3 separate regions of the Homo sapiens genome follow, and all the other regions are linked to region 3. The links are contacts of gene promoters, found by promoter capture Hi-C in blood cells and fetal thymus (Javierre and others, 2016). All regions are on one chromosome and are shown on one strand. The core of a region is centred on a gene start or on the middle of the fragment in contact, and the rest is flanking DNA. Distances in the headings are between cores, read along the strand shown.

Region 1 (3,798 bases), core at 185-2,684, 330 kb after region 3:
TTAAGTTTCTTCTAGCGATGCGGTCTCACTATTTTGCCCAGGCTGGTCTTGAACTCCTGGGCTCAAGCAGTCCTCCTGCCTTGGCCTCCCAAAGTGCTAGGATTACAGACGTGAGCCACTGCGCCCGGCCAATAAATATTTATGTCCATGTTACTGACAGCAGTGTTCGTTGGTGTGGCATGGGAATGAGCTAGCTTTTCTAGGAGGAGCCCCCTATGCTCCAGGGCTGCCCCGCTGTCTTGGCTCACCGGCCATGGGAGGGAGTCCTGGGCCATGATCTGTACCTAACATAGGAGGCCCAGGAGAGGCACGTGGGGAGGACTTCCAGCCCTGTTCCTTGACGTCTGCACCCTCCAGGGGAAGGATGACAGCTGCAGAAGGGCCTGTCTCTGTCACTCTGTAGTGAACAGTTACTTCTTGCCATCTGAAGTCACCCTGGCCTACGTCCATGAGATTGGCCAAATGGCAACTACCAACACCAGGCCATTTTCCCTGTGCAGAGGGGGAGGCCCTTTGGCGTGGGCTTCCTGGGCTTGAGGAAGCTTTGGCATGGCCTCTGGAGTTCCTGGGCATAGGCTGCCCTCCCTTGGAAAGGAGGCAGTTTCTCAGGGAGGGGTGCCGGGAAAGAGAACAGAACAAACTCTCACTTCCCCAGCCCTGTGGCGCTCTTTCTGGAAATGACTGTGTCACTTTTCTTTCTTGGTCAGCACGAGTCAGTGTGGCCAGTGCTTTAGACTCTCCCATCCCCTTGGCTCAGAAGCTTACACAGCAGCATGGGCTCCGTCAGGGGCTAAACTTCAGTTTGTGAGGGGCATGCCATGGGGTGGAAAGTTCAGAGAAAAACCCTTTGTCCAAAGAAGGTGAAGAATGGCCTGCTGTCACCGAACCAGGGGCCCTTGTGACTTCCTTTGGTTACACTCCTGGGATCCCCCTGACAGCTGGGGCAGGGGTATAGAAGAGCTTGTTATGTGCCCCATCTTTAGGACATCTCGGTGTCAAGCTGGAGTGACAACAGGGAAAGTTAGTAACCCCAGAAAGGCATTTGTGTTTCAGCGGTGCCTGCGTGTGGCTAATGGATACCGTCATTTATTGAGCATTTATCCCGTACCAGACTGTGCATAAACTTGTGTTGACTCAAAATGCTTGACCTTGGGGGCAGCTAGGGAAAGGGCAGTGATATAAATTAGGCCTATGGGCCACATTGAGCCTGTGGCCTATTTTTATCTGTGTTTGTATTTTATTAGTGAGACAGAGTCTCACTGTGTTGCCCAGGCTGGAGTGCAATGGCATGGTCTTGGCTCACTGTAACCTCCACCTCCCAGGTTCAAGTGATTCTCATGCCTCACCCTCCTGAGTAGCTGGGATTACAGGCCTGTGCCACCACCCTGGCTAATTTTTGTATTTTTAGTAGAGACAGGGTTTCACCATCTTGGCCAGGCTGGCCTCGAACTCCTGACCTCAAATAATCTGCCTGCCTCAGCCTCCCAAAATGCTGGGATTACAGGTGCGAGCCACCGCACCCAGCCTGTGTTTTATTATTTATTTATTTTGAGATGGAATCTCGCTCTGTTGCCCAGGCTGGAATGCAGTGGCGCAATCTCGGCTCACTGCAACCTCTGCCTCCCAGGTTCAAGCGATTCTCCTGTCTCAGCCTCCCGAGTAGCTGGGATTACAGGCACATGCCGCCATGCCCAGCTAATTTTTTGTATTTTAGTAGCTCACTGCAGCCTCTAACTCCTGGGCTCAAGTGATCCTCTGGCCTCATCCTCCCAAGTAGCTGGGACTACAAGCACATGTCACCACCCTTGGCTAATTTAAGCAATTTTTTTAGAGACAGAGTCTTGCTGTGTTTCCCAGGCTGGCCCCAAACCCCTGGCCTCAAACCATCCTCCTCCTGCCTGAGCCTCAGAAGTAGCTGGGATTATAGTCACGAACCGCTGGGCCCGGTGTGGCCTATTTTTGTACAGACAAAGCTAAGAAAGGCTTTTACAGTTTTTGAGAGATTGATTAGGGAAAAAAACTAAAACCCAATCCACAAACAACAATAATCAGTTGAGACCACAGTGTCCTGCAAAACCTGAAATATTTACTCACTGGCCCGAGGCAGGGGAAGCTTGTAGACCCCTGGGATAAATGAATGAGGCAGGCAGGAGTTGGGGTCTGTGGGGAGTTTGGCCCCAGCCAAAAGAGAAACCAAAAAATCCTCAGGCCGAATAGAGCATACTTCTGAATTGTGTGAGCCCCTTGTGCCAATTGTGGCGCTTACTGTATGTTACCACTTACTCTGAAAAGAGTTCTGTGAGGTCAGAGATACCAACCCCAATTTACTGGTGGAAAAACAGAAATGAAAGAACTTGACTGGCCAAAGTGATGTGGTTGGCAGGCAGCAGAGATGGCTTTGGCATTCTGGGTGACTGGATGCCCACCTTAAATGCATATATAAGTGGTTCAGTGACATTTATCTGTTCATCACAAAGACCCAAAGTAGCAGAGGCTTAATTAAACACGATGGCATTTTATTTTTTGTGCTCTAATGCTAAAGTGTGAAGATTGTCAGGTGCCAAAGTCTCCTGGGCTCTTGGAAGTTCCCAGATCCAGGTCCTCCCCCCGGCTTTTTTTTTTTTTTTGAGATGGTGTCTCGCTCTGTTGCCCAGGGGCTGCAGTGCAGTGGTGTGATCTCAGCTCACTGCATCCTCTGCCTCCCGGGTTCAAGCGATTCTCCTGCCTCAGCCTCCCAAGTATCTGGGACTACAGGCGTGTGCCACCACGGCTGGCTAATTTTTGTATTTTTAGTAGAGACGGGGTATCGCCACGTTGGCCAGGCTGTTCTCAAACTCCTGACCTCAGGTGATCCACCCGCCTCGGCCTCCCAAAGTGCTGGGATTACAGGCCACTGCCCCAGGCTGATCCTCCACCATTCTTAAGGTGAGGTCTTGTCCTCAGGTTTCAGCATGACTGCTGGAGTCCCGCCATTACACCCTGGCTTCCAGACAGCAGGACAGAGGAAGGGACAAAGGAGAAAGGGTGCAAAGGTCACATCCAGGTGTTTGTTAAGAAAGGTTCCCGGTAGCTGATGCAAGGTGCTTCAGCTTTCATTTTGTTGGCTAGAATGTAGTCACATGATCACTGCCAGCTGCAAGGGATGCTGGGAAATGTAGTTTTCAATCTGAGCGGCCATGTGCTCAGCTGAATTTAGGGTTCCAGTTTCCATGGACAAAGAGAGAACATACAGGGAGTCACCTTGGCCACAGTGGGTAGGATCTGGACCTGGCCAGAATGTTGGGAAGGACGTTTCTGGGTTATGGAGAGGTGCTCCAGTGGGCCAGGGCTGGAGACAGCCACCTGGCTTGGAGCACAGGGTCCCCTGTGAGGAGTGGAGGGGCTAAAAGTGGAAACAGGGCTGGGTTGGAATCGAGGATTTTTTTGGTTTTTTTGGAGATGAATTCTCGCCCTGTCACCCAGGCTGGAGCACAGTGGCTCAATGTCATCTCACTGCAACCTCTAGCCTCCCAGGTTCAAGTCATTCTCCTGCATCAGACTCCCAAGTAGCTAGGATTATAAGTGCGTGCAACCACACCCAGATAATTTTTGTATTTTTAGTAGATACGGGGGTCTCACCCTTTTGGCCAGGCTGGTCTTGAACTCCTGACCTCAAGTGATCCATCTGCCTTGGCCTCCCAAAGTCCTAGGATTACCGGCATGAGTCACCGCACCCAGCCTCAGGTGAAATCTTAATGGAAGGTGTCCAGTGCTGTGAGCAGCTCCTGGTCACCAAGCACTGGCCCTCTGTGTAGGGGG
Region 2 (3,860 bases), core at 1,011-3,510, 310 kb after region 3:
TGCTTGTAATCCCAGTACTTTGGGAAGCTGAGGTAGGTGGATCACCTGAGGTCAGAGCTTAAGACCAGCCTGGCCAACATGGTGAAACCCTATGTCTATTAAAAATACAAAAAATAGGCTGGGCGTGGTGGCTCACGCCTGTAATCCCAGCACTTTGGGAGGCCGAGGCGGGTGGATCATGAGGTCAGGAGATTGAGACCATCCTGGCTAACAAGGTGAAACCCCGTCTCTACTAAAAATACAAAAAATTAGCCGGGCGCGGTGGCGGGCACCTGTAGTCCCAGCTACTCGGGAGGCTGAGGCAGGAGAATGGCGTGAACCCGGGAAGCAGAGCTTGCAGTGAGCCGAGATTGCGCCACTGCAGTCCGCAGTCCGGCCTGGGCGACAGAGCGAGACTCCGTCTCAAAAAAAAAAAAAAAAAAAATACAAAAAATAGCTGGGTGTGGTGGCATGCGTGTGTAATCCCAGCTACTCAGGAGGCTGAGGCAGGAGGATCATTTGAATCTGGGAGGCGGAGGTTACAGTGAGCCAAGACAGTGCCATTGCACTCCAGCATGGGTGACAGAGCAAGATTCTGTCTCAAAAAAAAAAAAGATATTGACCAGGCTAGTCTTGAACTCTTAACCTCAAGTGATCCTCCCACCTCGGCCTCCAGAGTAGCTGGGATTACAGATGTGAGTCACCATGCCCAGCATGAGCCACATAAGGTTTCTGAGCACTTACTATGGACCAAGAACTGTCTTTGGGCTTGCCCAAAGACATTCCAGGCTGACATTCCAGGCGGATGAGGACAGATGATAAACATGAAATCCAATATATATTCAACCTGCCAGCAGGGCACCAGATGAAATCCACCTGGGTGAGGATGTCATTATTTGAAGTAGAGTAGGGCGACTGGCCCCATGTTCTAATGGTCAGCCCTCTGGACTCTGAAGTAGAGTAGGGCAATCAGGGAAGCCCTCTCTGAGGAGGTGGCATTTGAGCAAAAAACTGAATGATGAGGAGGAGCCAATCATGTGGATATCCAGGGCATGTGTTGCAGGCAGAGGATACAGGATGTGCAAAGGCCCCGAGGCTGAAGCTTCCCTGGTGTGTCTGAGGAGCCCAGTATGGCTGAAGGATGGTGAACAAGGAGGAAAATGGGGAGAGGCGGGGCAGGGAGTTCACCAGGAGGATCGTGGGGGGTCTTGTAGACCACAGCAAGGATTCGATCTTTTCACCTGAGTGAGGGAACCCTGGCAGGGCTGATGTCCTTTTCTGATCTCTGAATGAGGAGGCTGGACATGGGTTATGGGTCAAGAAGCAGGAGGGAGGAGCCTTTGGTGGCCTTCTGTGTTACCATCAGTCAGAACTTTCCTGGCCGGGTGCAATGACCCACGCCTATAAGCCCAGGACTTTGGGAGGCTGAGGCAGGACGATTCCTTGAGCCAAGGAGTTCAAGATCAGCCTGGGCAACATAGTGAGACCCTGTCTCTACAAAAAAAAAAAAAAATTATTTTATTTTTTTTTTAGATAGGGGTCTTGCTTTGTTGACCAGGCTAGAGTGCAGTGGCGCAATCACAGCTCACTGCAGCCTCCACTTCCTGGGCTCAATCAATCTTCCCTTCTCAGTCTCCCTAGCAGCTGGGACTACAGCCGTGCACCACCACGCCTGGCTAATATGTCTATTTTTTGTAAAGACAGGGACTCACTCTGTCGCCCAGGCTGGAGTGCAGTGGTGTGACCCCAGCTCACTGCAATCTCTACCTCCGAGGTTCAAGCAATTCTCCTGCCTCAGCCTCTCGAGTCTCACTGCAACCTCTACCTCCGAGGTTCAAGCAATTCTCCTGCCTCAGCCTCCCGAGTAGCTGGGATTACAGGCGTGCACCACCATGCCCAGCTACTTTTTGAGTTTTAGTAGAGATGGGGTTTCACAATGCTGGCCAGGCTGCTCTCAAACTCCTGACCTCAGGTGTTCTGCCTGCCTCGGCCTCACAAAGTGCTGGAATTACAGGCGTGAGCCACCATGCCCAGCTCCCCCCAATTTTTTTTTTTTTTTTGAGACAGTCTCGGTCTGTCGCCCAGGCTGGAGTACAGTGGCACGATCTCGGCTCACTGCAACCTCTGCCTCCCGGGTTCAAGCGATTCTCCTGCCTCAGAGCCTCCCGAGTAGCTGGGACTACAGGCATGTGCCACCATGCCCAGCTAATTTTTTGTATTTTTTTTTTTAGTAAGAAGGGGTTTCACAGTGTTAGCCAGGATGATCTCAATCTCCTGATCTTGTGATCCGCCCACCTCAGCCTCCCAAAGTGCTGAGATTACAGGCGTGAGCTACCCCGTCCGGCTAATGTTTTTTTTTTTTTTTTTTTAATTAGGAGGGACTGCTGGCATGTGTCAGTAGGCTGAGGCAGGTGGATCACTTAAGCCGGGGAGGTAGAGGATATAGTGAGCCATGATCGCACCACTGCATTCCAGCCTGGGTGACAGAGGGAGACCCTGTCTGTAAAAACTTTTTTTTTTTTTTAATTTTTGAGACAGAGTCTCACTCTGTCGCCCAGGCTGAAGTGCAGTGGCCCAATCTCGGCTCACTGCAACCTTTGCCTCCCAGGCTCAAGCGATTCTCGTGCCTCAGCCTCCCGAGTAGCTGGGACTACAGGCGCCAACCACCACACCCTGCTAATTTTTGTATTTTTTAGTAGAGATGGGGTTTCACCATGTTGGCCAGGGTGGTCTTCAACTCCTGACCTCAAGTGATCCGCCCACATCGGCCTCCCAAAGTGCTGGGATTACAGCCATGAGCCACCGCGCCTGGCCCAAAAAAACTTTTAAAAAGAACTTTTTCACTGCAAAAAATAATCTTGTTGCCAGCCGAGGCCAACATGCAGCTATGACAGGGCAGTTCTCTGTCCTTCCCGGCCTCAGGCTCCTCTATCAAAGGCCCCCTTCTCTCACCTTGGCCTTGTGGCCTTGGAGTAGGGAGCTGACAACACCCCTTCTGCCCCAGGTGAATCAATGAACAAGGCTGACATTGTGAGAATACCAAGCGTCTGTCTTCTTCCCTCTTCTGGCTTAGCTCCTCACCTCCCTTGGGGTCAGGGCATCTCCTCTTTCTCCAGGAAGGGGAAGCGAAGTCTTGTGCTGAGAAGGTGACTCTGGAACTGCCACTCCCATGCCTGTGTGACTAGCTTCTGGGTGGATCTCAGGGTCTACCGTTGGGCTGGGGGTGGATGTCATCTGGCCACTGGCACCCAGACTGCAAGTAATAAAAACCTGACTCACACTGGCTCTACCAGCAAGAGGGGATTTGTTGGTTCACTGAGCTGAAGTCAGTTTACATGGCTGACTTCAGATATGGCTGGATCCAGGTGCTGAAAAATGACAGAAAGCATTTGCCTTCTCAGCTCCTCTTCTGTCTTATTCTCAGGTAGTTTCTCCCCCTCATGGAGGCAAGATTGTGCCCTGAAGCTTCAGATATATATTCTTTTTTTTTTTTTTTTTTTTTTTTTGAGACAGATTCTAGCTGTGTCACCCAGACTGGAAGGCAATGGCCCAATCTCGGCTCACTGCAACCTCCACCTTTTGGGTTCAATCGATTCTCCTGCCTCAGCGTCCCAAGTAGCTGGGATTACAGGCACGTAACACCTGGCTAATTTTTGTATTTTTAGTAGAGACGAGGTTTCACTATGTTGGCCAGGTTGATCTCGAACTCCTGACCTCAGGTGATCCACCCACCTCAGTCTCCCAAAGGGCTGGGATTACAGGCGTGAGCCACCGTGCCCAGCCATCTCTTTTTTTGTTTGTTTCTTCAGATGGGGTCTCTCTGTGTCACCCAGGCTGGAGTGCAGTAGCACGATCTCAGCTCAGTGCACCCTCCACTTCCC
Region 3 (3,695 bases), core at 932-3,431:
AGCTCATTCCCATACATCTTTATGAGTTAGACACATTTAAAACTTTTTCCTGGCTGGGTGCAATCGCTCATGCCTGTAATCCCAGCACTTTGGGAGGCCGAGGCTGGCGGATCACCTCAGTCAGGAGTTCGAGACCAGCCTGGCCAACGTGGTGGAATCCTATCTCTACTAAAAATACAAAAATTAGCTGGGCGTGGTGGTGTGCGCCCGTAATCCCAGCTACTCAGGAGGCTGAGGCAGCAGAATTGCTTGAACCTGAGAGGTGGTGGTTGCAGTGAGCCAAGATCGCACTAGTGCACTCCAGCCTGGGCAACAAGAGCGAAACTCCATCTCAAAATAAATACATAAATAAATGAAAATAAAATAAAAAATAAAAATTGTCCCTGGCCAGGTGCAGTGGCTCATGTCTGTCATCCTAGAACTTTGGGAGGCTGAGGCTAATCGTTTCAGCCCAGGAGTTCAAGACTAGCCTGAGCAACACTGGGAGACTCTATCTCTACAGAAAAATTTTTAAAAATTAGCCAGGGGTGGCCAGGCACGGTGGCCCACGCCTGTAATCCCAGCACTTTGGGAGGCCGAGGTGGGCGGATCACGAGGTCAGGAGATCGAGACCATCCTGGCTAACACGATGAAACCTCGTCTCTACTAAAAATACAAAAAATCAGCCAGGCGTGGTGGCGGGCGCCTGTAGTCCCAGCTACTCGGGAGGCTGAGGCAAGAGAATGGTGTGAACCTGGGAGACAGAGCTTGCAGTGAGTCGAGATCGCGCCATTGCACTCCAACCTGGGCAACAGAACGAGACTCCGTCTCAAAAAAAAAAAAAAAAATTAGCCAGGGGTGGTGGCATGTGCCTATAGTCCTAGCTACTCAGGTGGCTGAGGCAGGAGACTTGCTTAAGCCTCGGCAGTTGAGACTGCAGTGAGCCATGATCAGGCCACTGCACTGTAGTCTGGATGACAGAGCAAGACCCTGTCTCAACAACAACAACCAAAATCTGTTTGGGCCTCGCAAGGTTAGAGAAAAAAAATTAAAAAATAAAATAAAATAAAATATTTTCCTGTAGTCTCAGCTACTTGGGAGGCTGAGGCAGGAGGATCACTTGAGCTAAGGAGTTTCAGGCCAGCCTGGGCAACATAGAGAGAACTTGTCTCTATAAAAAGTTAACTGATTACTTTTTAAAACAAAGAGGTTTTTTTTCAGCCTTATTGAGGTATAATAGACATATACAAAACCATGCAAATTTTAAGCGTACAATCTGATGAGTTTTCACACCTGTGAAGCCACTATTACAGTTAAGATACTGAATTTATCCACAGCTCCAAAAAATGTCTTCCTGCCTGAGGTGGTGGCTCACGCCTGTAATCCCAGCATTTGGGAGGCTGAGGCGGGAGGATCTCATGAAGCCAGGAGTTTGAGACCAGCCTAGACAACATAGCGAGACCCCTTATCTACAAATAAAATTTAAAAAATTAACCAGGCATGGTGGCTCCTGTCTGCGGTCTCAGCTACTCTGGAGGCTGAGGTTGGAGGATCAGAGTTGGAGGCTGCAGTGAGCTATGAAAGCGCCACTGCACTCCAGTCTGGACAACAGAGCCAGATGCTGTCTCGACAAAACAAACACTGAAAAAAACTTTCCTGGAGCACTTCATTCATCCCTCCCTCCCGCGCCTGCCTACCCCTGGATTTTTTTTCCCTGAGCATAATTCTCATGAAGATTCGTCTATGTTGTTGCGTGTATTCCAGCCCTATTTTGCACATGAGGAAACTGAGGCACAGAGAGGCGTGGCTTGCCCCGGAGGTCACACTAGTCGATTTGGTCCCAGGCCAGGGCGGGTTCTGGGTCGGCAGCCCGCGCAGGTGCACTCGGGAGGCGGGGCGGGCGCTGCAGGTGCGCAGTCAGTCTCACCTGGGCGCCTGCCAGGAGGTCAGTCCTGGGCCCTGGGGGGCAGGACTAGGGGCGGGGCCAGGGGCAGGGGTTCCCCAGCTCTGCTGCCTCCGATAAGGGCCTGAAGGGGCTGTCGCGCTCCTGGCGGTGTGATAAGGAGGGCGGGGGGAGGCCGCGGGAAGGCGTCGGGGTTTGAGGTCCCCGCCTGGCGACCCGGGATCGGGGCAGGAAAGGCGGCTGGGCGGGGAGAGGGCGGGGCGGGGCGTCTGGCTTGGCCACGCCCACCGTCATCCGGGGTCCTGGCCCGCTAAGATGGCGATGGCTGCGGTAGCAGCGGCGGCGGCTGTTGCCTGGCCCGGTACCCTGGGGACGGGGGCCGAGTAGCGCCTTCCCCGGGCCCCGTGAACCGGCTGCGGGTCGCCCTTGGGGGGCAGCGGCCGCAGCCCCCCACCTGGGCCCTCGGTCCGCCCTCCCGGCGCGTCCATGAACTCAGTGTCGCCGGCCGCCGCGCAGTACCGGAGCAGCAGCCCGGAGGACGCGCGCCGCCGGCCCGAGGCCCGCAGGCCGCGGGGTCCCAGAGGCCCAGACCCCAACGGCCTGGGGCCTTCCGGAGCCAGCGGCCCCGCTCTTGGCTCTCCCGGGGCTGGCCCGAGTGAGCCGGACGAAGTGGACAAGTTCAAGGCCAAGTTCCTGACAGCCTGGAACAACGTCAAGTACGGTGAGGAGGGGGCCCGGAGATCGTGGGGGTGTCGGGGGCCGTTGAGGAAAACCAGACCCCGGTCCTGCCAGTTATCCCACCCTTGTTCCCGTCCTGAGTCACCTGTGGGTCCCCTCCCTGCCCGGCCCAGGGTGGACCTGTGGCAGGTCCAATAGTGTTTTCAAGCCCCGCCCATTCCCCTGTGTGACCTTGGGCAAGATCCTTTGCTTCCTGGCGCCTCCGTTTTTGCCCCTCTCTGTAAAATGGGTACAATAATCAGAACTACCTTCCTTCATCCTGAATTGATGGTGGACACTCCTGTAGCTGTCACTGGGGGCCCCACCTCCGACGGAATCCCCGGAGCCACCCCGGAGATAGGAACTAGGATCGTGCCCATTTCACAGATGGGGGAATGGAAGCGCTGTTGCTGTCATGCAAGTGCTTCATCTCGCTGGGCGCTGCCCCTACGTCTCCCCAGGTTGGGTGGTTAAAAGCCGGACCAGCTTTAGCAAGATCTCCAGCATCCACCTCTGTGGCCGCCGCTACCGTTTCGAGGGCGAGGGTGAGCTGGTGGTTGGGACCAGGGCTGGGGGAGGCCTCTCCACGCCCGCCGGAGTGTCCCTGGTGGCAGCTGACAGACCCGCTCTTGTAGGTGACATACAGCGTTTCCAGCGGGACTTTGTGTCCCGCCTGTGGCTCACATACCGCCGGGACTTCCCGCCCCTTCCTGGGGGCTGCCTGACCTCGGACTGTGGCTGGGGGTGCATGTTACGCAGCGGCCAGATGATGCTGGCACAGGGCCTTCTGCTGCATTTCCTGCCCAGAGGTGAGCCATAGGGGGGAAGGGGTGCACTAGGAGTACAGGGTCAACTGCCATATCAGCAGTATTAGAATTACTTACCAACTAAGAGTTCAAAGTCACGTTAGAATTGTGTGTCAAGTAAGTTTTGGAGAGATGAGAGTTGTTTATAAGAGTTTCAGCCGGGGTTGGAAACGGTGGCTCATGCCTGTAATCCTAGCACTTTGGGAGGCTGAGGCGGATGGATCCCTTGCGGTCAGGAGTTCAAGACCAGCCTGGCCAATATGATGAAACCCCATCTCTACTAAAAATAC

The links. Contacts are between HindIII fragments. The CHiCAGO score rates a contact against its expected background, and 5 or more counts as called.
Region 1: a fragment that was not itself captured here is called in contact with the fragment with the promoter of ATG4D in region 3 in 1 of 17 cell types (neutrophils); the score reaches 5.8 in neutrophils.
Region 2: a fragment that was not itself captured here is called in contact with the fragment with the promoter of ATG4D in region 3 in 1 of 17 cell types (neutrophils); the score reaches 9.7 in neutrophils.

Annotation. Positions count from the first base shown.
Region 1 is chr19:10,876,196-10,879,993 of GRCh38, forward strand. All of the region lies in intron 1 of CARM1 (coactivator associated arginine methyltransferase 1), which reads left to right. Among named protein-coding and RNA genes, the nearest start is that of CARM1, 6.5 kb to the left of the region's middle. RefSeq lists enhancers at 426-575, 756-985, 2,793-3,635. The HindIII fragment of the contact is 1,353 bases long and covers 759-2,111 here.
Region 2 is chr19:10,851,571-10,855,430 of GRCh38, forward strand. The region is part of intron 2 of C19orf38 (chromosome 19 open reading frame 38); the gene reads left to right. Among named protein-coding and RNA genes, the nearest start is that of C19orf38, 5.1 kb to the left of the region's middle. The HindIII fragment of the contact is 2,363 bases long and covers 1,080-3,442 here.
Region 3 is chr19:10,541,723-10,545,417 of GRCh38, forward strand. ATG4D (autophagy related 4D cysteine peptidase) reads left to right here and starts at 2,182. Exons shown (of 10, transcript NM_032885.6): 1 at 2,182-2,603; 2 at 3,061-3,144; 3 at 3,235-3,408. The coding sequence starts at 2,369. RefSeq lists silencers at 1,898-1,947, 1,958-2,297, 2,348-2,527 and an enhancer at 2,573-3,168. The HindIII fragment of the contact is 8,842 bases long and covers 1-3,695 here.